Linked DNA regions of Homo sapiens: regions 2 and 3 are each linked to region 1. The links are contacts of gene promoters, found by promoter capture Hi-C in blood cells and fetal thymus (Javierre and others, 2016). All regions are on one chromosome and are shown on one strand. Each heading gives the region's core, a stretch centred on a gene start or on the middle of the fragment in contact. The rest is flanking DNA. Distances are from core to core; before and after follow the strand shown. Region 1 holds the start of METTL14 (methyltransferase 14, N6-adenosine-methyltransferase non-catalytic subunit). Region 2 overlaps MAD2L1-DT (MAD2L1 divergent transcript). Region 3 overlaps MAD2L1 (mitotic arrest deficient 2 like 1).

Region 1 (3,723 bases), core at 514-3,013:
TGTAAGGGACATAGTCATCGCTCTAGATGCCAGAAGCAGAGAGTAAAATAAATGGACAATAGCTTTCCCATGTTCCACCTTTTGATTTCCTGCCTGTGCCTCCTGTGGGCAGAGTCTTACAGGAAGCCATCTAACAAGGAAGGCTGGGAAATGTAGTTTGTGGACTCCCTGCCTAGCCATCATCTCGAAGCAGAGGGTAGGTGAGTATGGGGTTCAAAGATTACAAGCAAGTAACCTGCATAGCAACTTATCAGGAAAAAGAAAAATCCTCCATTAGACAGTAAACTCATAAAGAAAAACCGACTTTAGTTTTTAATCTTTGACAGACTTTATAGACTCTAGGGCCTATCACAGTGCTTGCCATATAAAATGCTCAATCAATATCAACAGATATTTAAGTGAATAATTGCCTATTCTCACCATTGGTAAAATTTAAATCAGTATTCAACTTAAATGATTGCCAGATAATACAACTGATTTTTAAAGAAATACACTTTAACTCATATGGACATAAATATTTTACAGTATCCAAGTAGTGCTGACATTACTCAAGGAATTGTTTAGGACTACTTGTTCAAAATTGTCTTTCAGACCTAGTTCTTCGGAAATACATTATAATTATTTCTATAAAAGTGGGCATGACTAAGTAGAATCTAGTCTTGCCCACTTTTGGCCCAGCCTGACTCAACTGGTTTTGATCTGGATGACTTAATATTATTTCTGAAAATTAAATCTACTCTGAAAGAACAGACTTATTACTAATTTTGTTAAGTACTTACCGCGATTTCCAATTAAACTTGAGGCAACATGATGTCTTACTCCACTTCCGCCACTGTAGGCTTGAAATAAGATGGCAAGTGTGGTGAATAATAATGGTAATAACTCAAATAAGACTTTGGCCTTTGCTGCCATCCTATGAAGACAGAATCACCACCCCCCAGCCCTCACCCCTCACCCCCGCAATCCGAGTAATTTCAGGAAGCTATTTGTTTCCTTATCCTTGGGTTATTTTCAGTTAAGACAAATGTACAAGCACAAAAAGGAGTCTCTTAGCTTCTGACTCCTAGGACATAAACCAAGACACGCTTTACTATCACATACTCATTTCCCTAAAGGGAAGAAGCCAAAAAATGCATACTATAGTAAAATGGGAAACATTTCAAGGGACAGTAAGGTGTGGGGAAGAGTGGGCAGATGTTGTGGCTGTTACCTGCGTGAAGGTAAATAAAATATTAACAATAACAAGCACTTCTACACCGCTATGTGCAAGGTGCTATTTATCCTTTCAATCACAGCTCTGTGAGGTAGACACTTATGACTCCCATTTTACAGATGACAAAACTGAGGCTCACGAAGGTGGTTAACTAGCCAAGGCCACTCGTCTAGGAAGTGAGAGGCCAAGGTTCAATCCTAGGCAATCTGGCTTAAGTTTGTGTTCTGTTAAAAAAAAAAAAATTAAAGGTTATCTGGCAATTTTTTAAACGTCAGGACTGTCATCTGTGGAATCAATTGAAAAGGGAATCAACACTTCAGAAACTGTAATACACCAAGGGAACCTGCTATCCTGGGAAAGAGAGATAAAGGAGAAGTCAGCTGACTGTCCTCCTTCAGACTAGCTCAGACCACCCCAACCTGCGAGGGCCCTGGAGACCCCTGTGGCGCAACAGATCCCTTACTGGGTCCCTTCCAAGTGGCGTCACATAGCAAGCGTCCAGAAGGAGGCGGGACTTCCGGGCCAAGCGAGCCAATTCCGGCCGCGCCGGAAGTCTCTACTGAGGAAAGCTATGAGGATACTCTGTTCGTAAGCTCCCGGTGAATTTTGTTCCACAGACTCGGAAGAAAGGTTGGATAAGAGTTCACTGGAGATTGACAAGTACTCGGGATAGTGAAAAGCCGGAGTTGGAACATGGATAGCCGCTTGCAGGAGATCCGGGAGCGGCAGAAGTTACGGCGACAGCTCCTCGCGCAGCAGGTCCGCGGCCCTGGTGTCCCCTGTGGGAGGGATCGAGAATGCGAGTGCGCGGCCGCCTCCTCCCTCCACACCCCGCCTTTTTCTGTCCCTTCTCTACCTGCCGCTGTTAAGGCCTTTCTGGTCCTGCGATCTTGATCCCTGGTTCTGCCTTTGTAGTTCTCAATTTTCGCGGTGTCCCGAATGTTTTTCCAGTTCCTTCCGCGGTCTTTGTGGTGCTAAACCGAATGCCAGGATTAGCCTTTAAGCTTTGTGGAACTCCCACCGAGTGTCTGGCATGTTCACGCCAGGATGAGTGTCATGTTATCCCCTACATTTCTCTTCACTATTAAATGGTCATCTATTTCTTTCTTTTCTTCGTCGTCAGCCCCAAATTCTTGAGATTGTGGTTTCATTATGAAATACGTTTACAGTATTTTCTTTGACATCTTTCTGAAGACAACACTGGAAGTAGCCTGAGTGTAAATTTTAGATTCTGCATCTTATATAGAGTATCCTTGTCACATCCACAGTTAATATTTGAAATCTTACTCTGTGTTAGTCACAATAATCTCCTGAAACAGGTATTATTACCTTCACTTATCAAGTAATGAAAAAGGCTCCATACGTTAAGGAATTTTACTCCTGGTCGCTCACTTCTCTGCTGGGAAATAGAACCTAGGTTTGTCTCCCCAAAGCTTGTCTTCTAAACCATTGTCCTTCACTTCTTTCTTGTGTATGAGTAAGTTAACATTTGCTGATTAGTAGAGTGCACATGCAGAAAATACAGATTGTGCACAGTTCTACTTAAAATCGAGGCTGTATTTTCCATTCTACTATTCAGATCAGTAAAAGTGATAGGAGCAATGCTCATAGAGTGTAATTAGTCATCTTGCAGTTATTTTTCAGTAATGAAACTTGGTTTTAGTAAATGGACTTCTGAAACCTATCCTCTTTATGGTCTGATGAACAGATTTGTGGAATATGGCTAAAACCGTGGAAACTTGGAGTCAGATTTGTTCCTTTGTTCCTTATCCCGCTGGCATTACGATCTTGGGCAAATCAAGTATCCTTTCTAAGTCTTCTTTTCGCCAACTTCTTTTATCGTATTATCTTCAAAAATGTTAAGTAGCTCTTTGTTGCTACCACAGAAGACGTTTTACTCCTTAATATTGAATTCAAACTTCTATTTGACTCAATATACATTCATAGGACAATTATTTGTTTAGTGTTTTACACTCAGCAGATGCCAGGGGCTCTACCTTTTAAAGTCTTTTATGAATTGGTTGCACTCTACTTAGCCAGCCTTATAACCATTATTTGTTTACATTTGTTTGTATTTTGCAAAATTTTCCAAACTGCCAAACAAAATTTATGTTACCATTTTAAGGTAGTAAAGTTCAGCCTTGTGTCTATAAATAGTAAGACTTAGCTTGAGTAAAACTGGATCGATTTTTATTAGAGCATAGAATAAATAAGTTATATAAGCTGATGCCTACAAAATGTTTAACATGGTACCCACAACCCTGTGCAAACACTGTCTTATCTGCCTTTTTTAGTTATTGCTATTGCAGGTTGAATATCTCTTATCTGAAATGCTTGGGCCAGAAGTGTTTTGGATTTCAGATTTTTTTCAGGATTTGGAATATTTGCATATTACTTACTGGTTGAGCATGCCAAATACCAAAACTCAAAATCGGAATGCTTCAGTGACCATTTCCTTTGAATGTCATGTCAGTACTCAAAAAGTTCCAGATTTTGGAGCGTTTTGGATT
Region 2 (3,723 bases), core at 348-2,847, 1.4 Mb after region 1:
TACCTTCCTATTAGTTTGGGAACTAATTAAATGCATTGTTTGACCTTTTAGTTAGTTTTGGAACTAATTTGTAATTTAGAAAAATTATAGTTTAGAGAACTCTGTTTCCAAACTTTTCAATTGTACAGATGAGACTTTTTTAAAAAATAGTTTATCCAGGCCAGGTGCGGTGGCTCATGCCTGTAATCCCAGCACTTTGGGAGGCTGAGGAGGGCGGATGACGAGGTCAGGAGATTGAGACCATCCTGGCTAACACAGTGAAACCCTGTAAAAAAAAAAAAAATACAAAAAATTAGCCGGGTGTGGTGGCGGGCACCTGTAGTCCCAGCTACTCAGGAGGCTGAGGCAGGAGAATGGCATGAACCCGGGAGCTGGAGCTTGCAGTGAGCTGAGATCGTGCCACTGCATTCCAACCTGGGTGACAGAGCGAGACTCCATCTCAAAAAAAAAAAAAAGTTTATTCAAACGTGCTCCTTCCATAACATGAGTGTCTTTTGAAAAACGGAATGGAAGAATGTTAATTTTTCTGAAGTTCTTGTTAGCACAGTACTGCAAAGAGAAAGAGCCAGTAAATCTGGCACAGCTGACTTGCATTTCCTCAGGGTACCAATCATGGCCTATGACTCCCTTTTTTTTCTAAATTTTTAAAACTGACAAATAATAATTGTACATATTTACAGGGTGCATAGTGATGTTGTGGTCTATACAATGTATAGTGATCAGATCAGGGTAATCAGCCTATCTATCATCTTAAACATTTATAATTTCTTTGTGTTTCAAACATTCAATATCCCCATTCTAGCTATTTTAAACTATTATTAACTTGTAGGATGTAGTCATCCTACAAGTGCTGTAGAACACTAGAACTTACTCTTATCTAGCTGTAATTTTGTTTCCTTTAACAAATCTCTCTGTCCTCTCTTTCCGCCTACCCTTCCCAGCCTCTAGTATTCTCTGTTGTACTTTTTACTTCTGTGGGATCAACTTTTTTAACTTCCACATATGAGTAAGAACGTGACCTTCTGACATGGAGACTGTGTGAGTGTGCAATGTCAGTCCATTTTTTGAAATCCATTTTTTTAGTAAAGCTTATTTTCCTAGGTTAAAACATAAATTAAATAGAAGTTGTAACATTCCTTCCTATACTCCCAAAAGGATTGTTTTTTGCATATATTCCACTTTGGAAGCCACTGATTTTGAGGATGTTTGCAGAAACCTTATTGATTAGGGGATGAGGCACCTGAGTTGGGAATAGTAGTGTTCCGTGCTTGTCCTCTCTTCTAGGTAAATATGGAATAGACCTAGTTAGGATGGCTGACCTGCATGCCTATGTGGAAATTTGAAGTATCATTCTTTTTTTTTTTTTTTTTTTTCTGAGACAGAGTCTTGCTCTTTCACCCAGGCTGGAGCGTGGTGGCACCATCTCAGCTCACTGCAATCATCGCCTCTCAGGTTCAAGTGATCCTTATTCCTCAGCCTCCTGTGTAGCTGGGATTACATGCATGCACCATCACACCCAGCTAATTGTTGTATTTTTTAGTGGAGACAAGGTTTCGATGGTCTTGCACTCCTGGCCTCAAGTGATTCACCCACCTTGACCTCCCAAAGTGCTGGGATTACAAGTGTGAGCCGCCATGCCCGGCGTGAGCTATCATTCTTTATAATGGACTTTGCAGAACAATCCTGTAAGGAAAATACATTCTTATTGGGAAGGAGTGCTCCAGACTCTTGAACCCCATCTATTTACCACTGCCCAAAGCACAGAATAAAAGCCATCTTAGGGGTTTCAACAAATCCTGTCATAAAAGTCCACTTAGATCACATAAAAAAAAAAAACTTTATTACTGGTTGCATAATGAGGGAGTGTCATGGTCTTGTCTAAAAGAAGCAGGAATCTCCAAGCAATCTACCAACAGCAGAGATCACATGCAGATATGTCAAAAAAAGATGTTAGCCTAGCATGTTCCAGAGAAACTTCTTAGAAGCAGACTATCTGGACAATTTAAGAAGAATTATATAGGAGTTATTTTCCTTATCGGTAAAATGGATGTAACAATAGTACTTGTCACATATAATTTTTCTGAGTATTACATGAGATAATTTAAATGAAGCTTTGGCTTAATGCTAATATGTTATTGTTATTGTTTTATTATTATATTGTTACTGTTGTTGTTAATAAGACAGCTTTTCACCACTTTTCCACGCACCTTTCCTGGGTTGGTACATGTTTAGTTTAGCATAACTAAAGGAGGCTTTAGATAATACAACTTAAGGCACAGATGAGATAGAAACTCTTATAACATATATAATAATGATAGCCAACATTATTAACCACATACTATCTGCCAGGCACATTTCTATGTGCTTTACAAGAATCATTTTATTTAATCCCTCATTAGCTCAAGAGTTAGATACTACTATTACCTGAATTAAGTTACAGAAGGAAGTTGAATAATTTAGCTAAGGTCACCCAGCTAGGAGAACTGGAGTCAAATCCAAGCAATCTAGATGGTACCAGAATATGAATCCTGAAAGCATCAAAGATCTGACTATATTTTAGATAACTCTAATTTGAGGCAAACTATAGTGGGTCCTTAATATTCCTCCATCCTTGCTATGTAACTCCTGAGACCCATTCAGCAATGGAAACCAATGGAGCTGAATGGCTGGAAAGTCACAGAATTGGAACAAGGAAAATAATCCAAAAGTGGAAGAAAAGAGTCCAAAACTGGAGGAAAAGAAACAAGAGGTAGGATCCAGGGTGCAATACTGGCTCATCTGGCTAAGAGTGGATGGCCAAAAGGGGTACCCTGACTAGGGCTGCAAAAACAGGAATTTTTTAAAAATTTTGTGCTTAAAAGATCTTGTCAATTTTCTACTTAAAAGATCTTCAGTGAACTAAGAGGAGGCATTAAACAAATATTCTGGCCAAGGGATAGAATGGCATTTGAAATAGCCTACTCTTTGTCCTGCCAATTTTATTGATAGCTCAGACAAAAGGAAATGAGAATATGCAATACAGCAGGAATGTAAAAAGATGACAAATTTGAGAGACATTTTAAAAATGTGTTGAGATGTGTTTGGTTGTACTCTGAAGAACAGCCTGGGTTTTGGGGGATCATGGTGTGGAGCTGTTATACATGGAGATGATATAGATAAGTTTGTGGCATTCGATTCATTTTCCTTCAAGTGGTTTTAGGCCAGGCAAAAAAAAAAAATTTTTTTTGAGGTAATAGCTAATAAAATGACACATTGAGGAAGAAGAGGCAGTGAAGGAAACTCAGAAGAAATGGAAAAGTAGGAGGCAAATTGTGAGAGGAATGTCAGAACCTATTTAGTGAATTTGGATTAGGTAGAAAAATACTATTTTAGTAGTTTAGTAAATAATTCAGCACAAATAAGAATGACTGAGGAAGAGTCACAGATTTTGTACTTGAAAGATTTTTGGTGAACTAAGAGGAGACAATTTGGGTCACACGGTAGGGTATAAAAGTCTTTTACAAGGAGTTTGGAAGTAAGGCTAAGAAGATAGAAGTAAAAGGTTTGCAAGAGAAATGGAGAGTGGAGAAACCACATAAGCAATTGCTGGATCTTGGGAATTTTATGTTTAGGATATTTAGAGGAAAGAGAGCAAAAGAAATATAAATACTGAAGTTGAAAGTTGGAAAGGCCTAACTAATAGAGCCAGACACCTGAGGCCACAGAAAGCAATGGCATCAAGGA
Region 3 (3,723 bases), core at 745-3,244, 1.4 Mb after region 1:
ACTATGGGTGGTCCAGCTTATATTTGGGATGCCTTTTTCCACACAGATAAAATTCCAAGAAAATAAGATTTTGATCTCATGTAAGTTCCTTTGTGCAAACAAGCTTGCATAGCAAAATGGTGCAGATAAATGTAGATGAAATGGGCTTTGTACAAGTAAATGTAACTATATTATGTTTCTCTGGTATAAAAATAGATCACATGGTGGAGGACAAAAATAGGTGACATGGTAACATAAACCAACTTGTGTAATCAGAGGGTCAACTCTGACATTTTTCACTCTAGGCCTTTTCTAATAGTCTTGTTGCTAGGGCTACAATGTTTTTGCCAGATTGGAACAGAATTGTCAACTCTAATGAAGATTAAGTAGCTTGCCCAACTACGTTTGTTTTTTTTTTTTTTTTTAGCCTCAGTGAATACTGCTGGCTTTAAAAGTCATAATTATGAAGAATGGAAATATCTCTAAAAGATCTATTTTTAAAAATATATAACTAATAAAATTTAAAATTGAGTAGACAGTTTCCATTTCACAGCTATTCCAATATAAACTTTTATCAGTCACATTGAACAAAATAACTAGAAATATTTCATACATTTAAAAAAAGAATAAGAAATTATTTACAAGTTAAGCCGCAAACAATTCACCAAAAACTGAGTAATTAAGGTTACTTAACAAACAATTCTTCTGATTAGTTGGAAAATTGTTTCATTACTGTTCACAAATTCATACCTGATTTACTCTGTAGACAATATAGATTAGGCATAGGATAAAATCCTCTGTATTTGGTTCCTCCCAATCATTGGTCAAAGTCATCTGACAACAGACTATCTGAGGAAAGTGTAAATACAAAGTCACCCAATAAAACATGAATAAGTTTTGCAAAGCACAGTAAAGGAAAACCAGTTTGTTCTGAACACTTTATTGCTAAAAGGATGTAAAGGGTAAGAGGAAAAAGGTGACGAAACACTCCTTTTGATATGCTTGTTGGGGAGTCAGGATGAACTTCCTTGGCTAGGGATAGAAGGAAGAGATCACCTAAACTTCAAAAACCACAATACAATTTGCATACTTCCTTGGCCAGGGATAGGAGAGACCACTAAACTTCAAAAACCACGACACAATTTGCATGCCCATTGACCCCCAGTTTTACTTGTGCACAAAAGCATGAGAATTAAATAAAAATTCATGTGAAGTGACTAGTAAATAATAAATGCTAAGTGTTTATTCCCCTAATGTATTTATATATTTGTTGCCAGGAATTCCAATGCTGAGTAACCTTGCTTTTCCAATAAGCTTACAGCCTTTAGAACCAAAAGAAAGTCATCTTAATTTGAATATTACAGCATTAGTGACATCTGGTGGAAAATATAAGAGTTACAAAGTAGCATTACATAGCTATTCTGATCTTTCATGTAAATTTTAGATAAATTTTACATACTAAATGAAAACAAGATGAAGAAATGGTCTATGAAGTTATCTACCTTATTGTGCTAATAATCTTTGAATCTATATGCTAAAATATATAGGAAGTCAGTATAATTAGCATTATACTAATAAAAACATTTTTCAGCATGCATGTCTATATAGTGAAAAAATGATTAAAAATAGGCATGGGCTCTTTATCCTATTGTGAGTCTCATAAAAAGGGTCTCTTTTTTAAAGGAGAGCCCATACCTCTCTTTTTATGGCATCACATGCCAAAGAACCTCCCTTAACAAGTTTTCAGATCAAATTGTGAACTGTGGGGTGTGTTAGGAAGTATGTCAAGAAAATAGCTGGTTGTGCTTCAGAGAATATGGAATTTAGGTATATTTGGGAGAGACATTCTGTTTGAGATACTATGGATGGAGGCAACAAACGATGTTTTACAAGTGAGCTTTAAATATTACGGTATCAAATGCTCTGAACTAGGGAGGGGTTCAAGTATTTGTGACCAAAAGAGCAAACTGTGATCTGTTACAGGACTGGTAAGCTACAACCCTGGGGCCGAAGCAAACAGCCATGTTTTTTTCTTATTGGAACACACTCACGCTCATTCATTTATGTATTGTCTATAGCTGCTTTCAGCCTCGAGTAGGTGCAAGAGACCATATGCCTTCAAAAGCAGAACTATTTACTACCTGGCCATTTACAGAAAGTTTGCCAACCTCTAGTCCATTAGATAACTGTCATCAAACTTCTCGGTGCCATTCCCACCACCTCCATGGGAGGAGTATACTTCCTGGTCCCATTAAAGTTAGGCTTGACCTTCACTTGCTTTGGTCAGTGTGAAAAAGCTGGCCTTCAGAGTCCTGACTAACCAATGTCCCTCCAACAGAATGAGAAAGGTGCAGCAAAAGCCAACCAATACATGAGACTGTTATACCTCTGCACAAGCATTCTCACAGAGGTTTGACTTCTCTGATTGATGACACTGGGAAAAGGATCCTGAAAGCCAGATACAGTTCAGTTCCTCCTGGGCTCTACTTCAGACCTTGATGGGCTTAACCTCTGTTCATCCTCTACATATGGTAAGCAACACTGAGCCAGAGTCCAGGCCAGGCCTAGAGGCCTATCATGCTGTCTTAGAACCTTCTCTTTAACATGGTGTAGAAACCACTCACAAGTCTTTCAGCTGTTGATTTAAACATCATCCTCCTGAGGTAAGCCTCAAGGTCTAGAAAGAGGATGGGACAGTCCACTTGGAGCTACAGGGCAAAGCTTTTCCAGTATAGCTTCACCTCAATAAAACTCATAGTTTGGCTCCCACTCAGCTCCAAAATGTGTATTTCTTTTTTATTTATTATTTTTTGAGATGGAGCCTTGCTCTGTCGCCCAGGCTAGAGTACAGTGGCACGGTCTTGGCTCACCGCAACCTCCACCTCATGGGTTCAAGCGATTTCTCCTGCCTCAGCCTCCCAAGTAGCTGAGATGCGCCCGCCACCACGCCCAGCTAATTTTTATATTTTTAGTAGAGACGGGGTTTGACCATCTTGGCCAGGCTGGTCTCAAACTCCTGATCTCGTGATCCACCTGCCTCGGCCTCCCAAAGTGCTGGGATTACAGGCGCGAGCCACTGCGCCCAGCCCAAAATGTGTATTTCTTAATTGATTATATAATCTGTAAGGGGTAAAATGACTCATCATGACTAGCTCTCCAGAAACCTCAGAGTAAATAGTAGCATGCAAATGATACAAAAATCTAAGAATTTAATCCTGTTAATATTGGTAGCTGAGTTGAAATGACCAGAGTATACACACAACCTTTAAAAATGTGATTTCAGCCGGGCGCAGTGGCTCACGCCTGTAATCCCAATGCTTTGTGAGGTCAAGGCGGGCAGATCATGAGGTCAGGAGTTCAAGACTAGCCTGGCCAACATGGTGAAACCCTCTCTCTACTAAAAATATAAAAATTAGCCAGGTGTGGTGGCACGTGCCTGTAATCCCAGCTACTCAGGAGGCTGAGACGGAAGAATGGCTGGAATCCGGGAGGCAGAGGCTGTAGTGAGCTGAGCTGCGTCACTGTACTCCAGCCTGGGCGACAGAATAAGACTCCATCTTGGGGGGGAAAAGTGATTTCGCAGAATTTAGTCTGACTTCTCAAATAGTTAAAATACAAATGAAGCATTTAATTGCCACTTTTCTTGAAATCATCTAGGTTGGTAACACCAGTGGTCCACTTATTCCATAAAGATATGAAGAGTCTACAAATTTGTCACTGAGAACCCAGAAACTGCCACTGATC

The links. Contacts are between HindIII fragments. The CHiCAGO score rates a contact against its expected background, and 5 or more counts as called.
Region 2: a fragment that was not itself captured here is called in contact with the fragment with the promoter of METTL14 in region 1 in 1 of 17 cell types (total B cells); the score reaches 7.1 in total B cells.
Region 3: a fragment that was not itself captured here is called in contact with the fragment with the promoter of METTL14 in region 1 in 1 of 17 cell types (total CD4 T cells); the score reaches 5.3 in total CD4 T cells.

Annotation. Positions count from the first base shown.
Region 1 is chr4:118,683,629-118,687,351 of GRCh38, forward strand. METTL14 (methyltransferase 14, N6-adenosine-methyltransferase non-catalytic subunit) reads left to right here and starts at 1,764. Exons shown (of 11, transcript NM_020961.4): 1 at 1,764-1,972. The coding sequence starts at 1,907. METTL14-DT (METTL14 divergent transcript) reads right to left here and starts at 1,713. Exons shown (of 7, transcript NR_125930.1): 1 at 1,677-1,713; 2 at 780-839. RefSeq lists enhancers at 1,723-1,982, 2,163-2,302. The HindIII fragment of the contact is 9,570 bases long and covers 1-2,215 here.
Region 2 is chr4:120,075,373-120,079,095 of GRCh38, forward strand. All of the region lies in intron 1 of MAD2L1-DT (MAD2L1 divergent transcript), which reads left to right. Among named protein-coding and RNA genes, the nearest start is that of MAD2L1-DT, 10 kb to the left of the region's middle. The HindIII fragment of the contact is 1,023 bases long and covers 1,087-2,109 here.
Region 3 is chr4:120,055,090-120,058,812 of GRCh38, forward strand. MAD2L1 (mitotic arrest deficient 2 like 1) reads right to left here. Exons shown (of 5, transcript NM_002358.4): 5 at 534-3,723. Among named protein-coding and RNA genes, the nearest start is that of MAD2L1, 9.9 kb to the right of the region's middle. The HindIII fragment of the contact is 1,407 bases long and covers 1,292-2,698 here.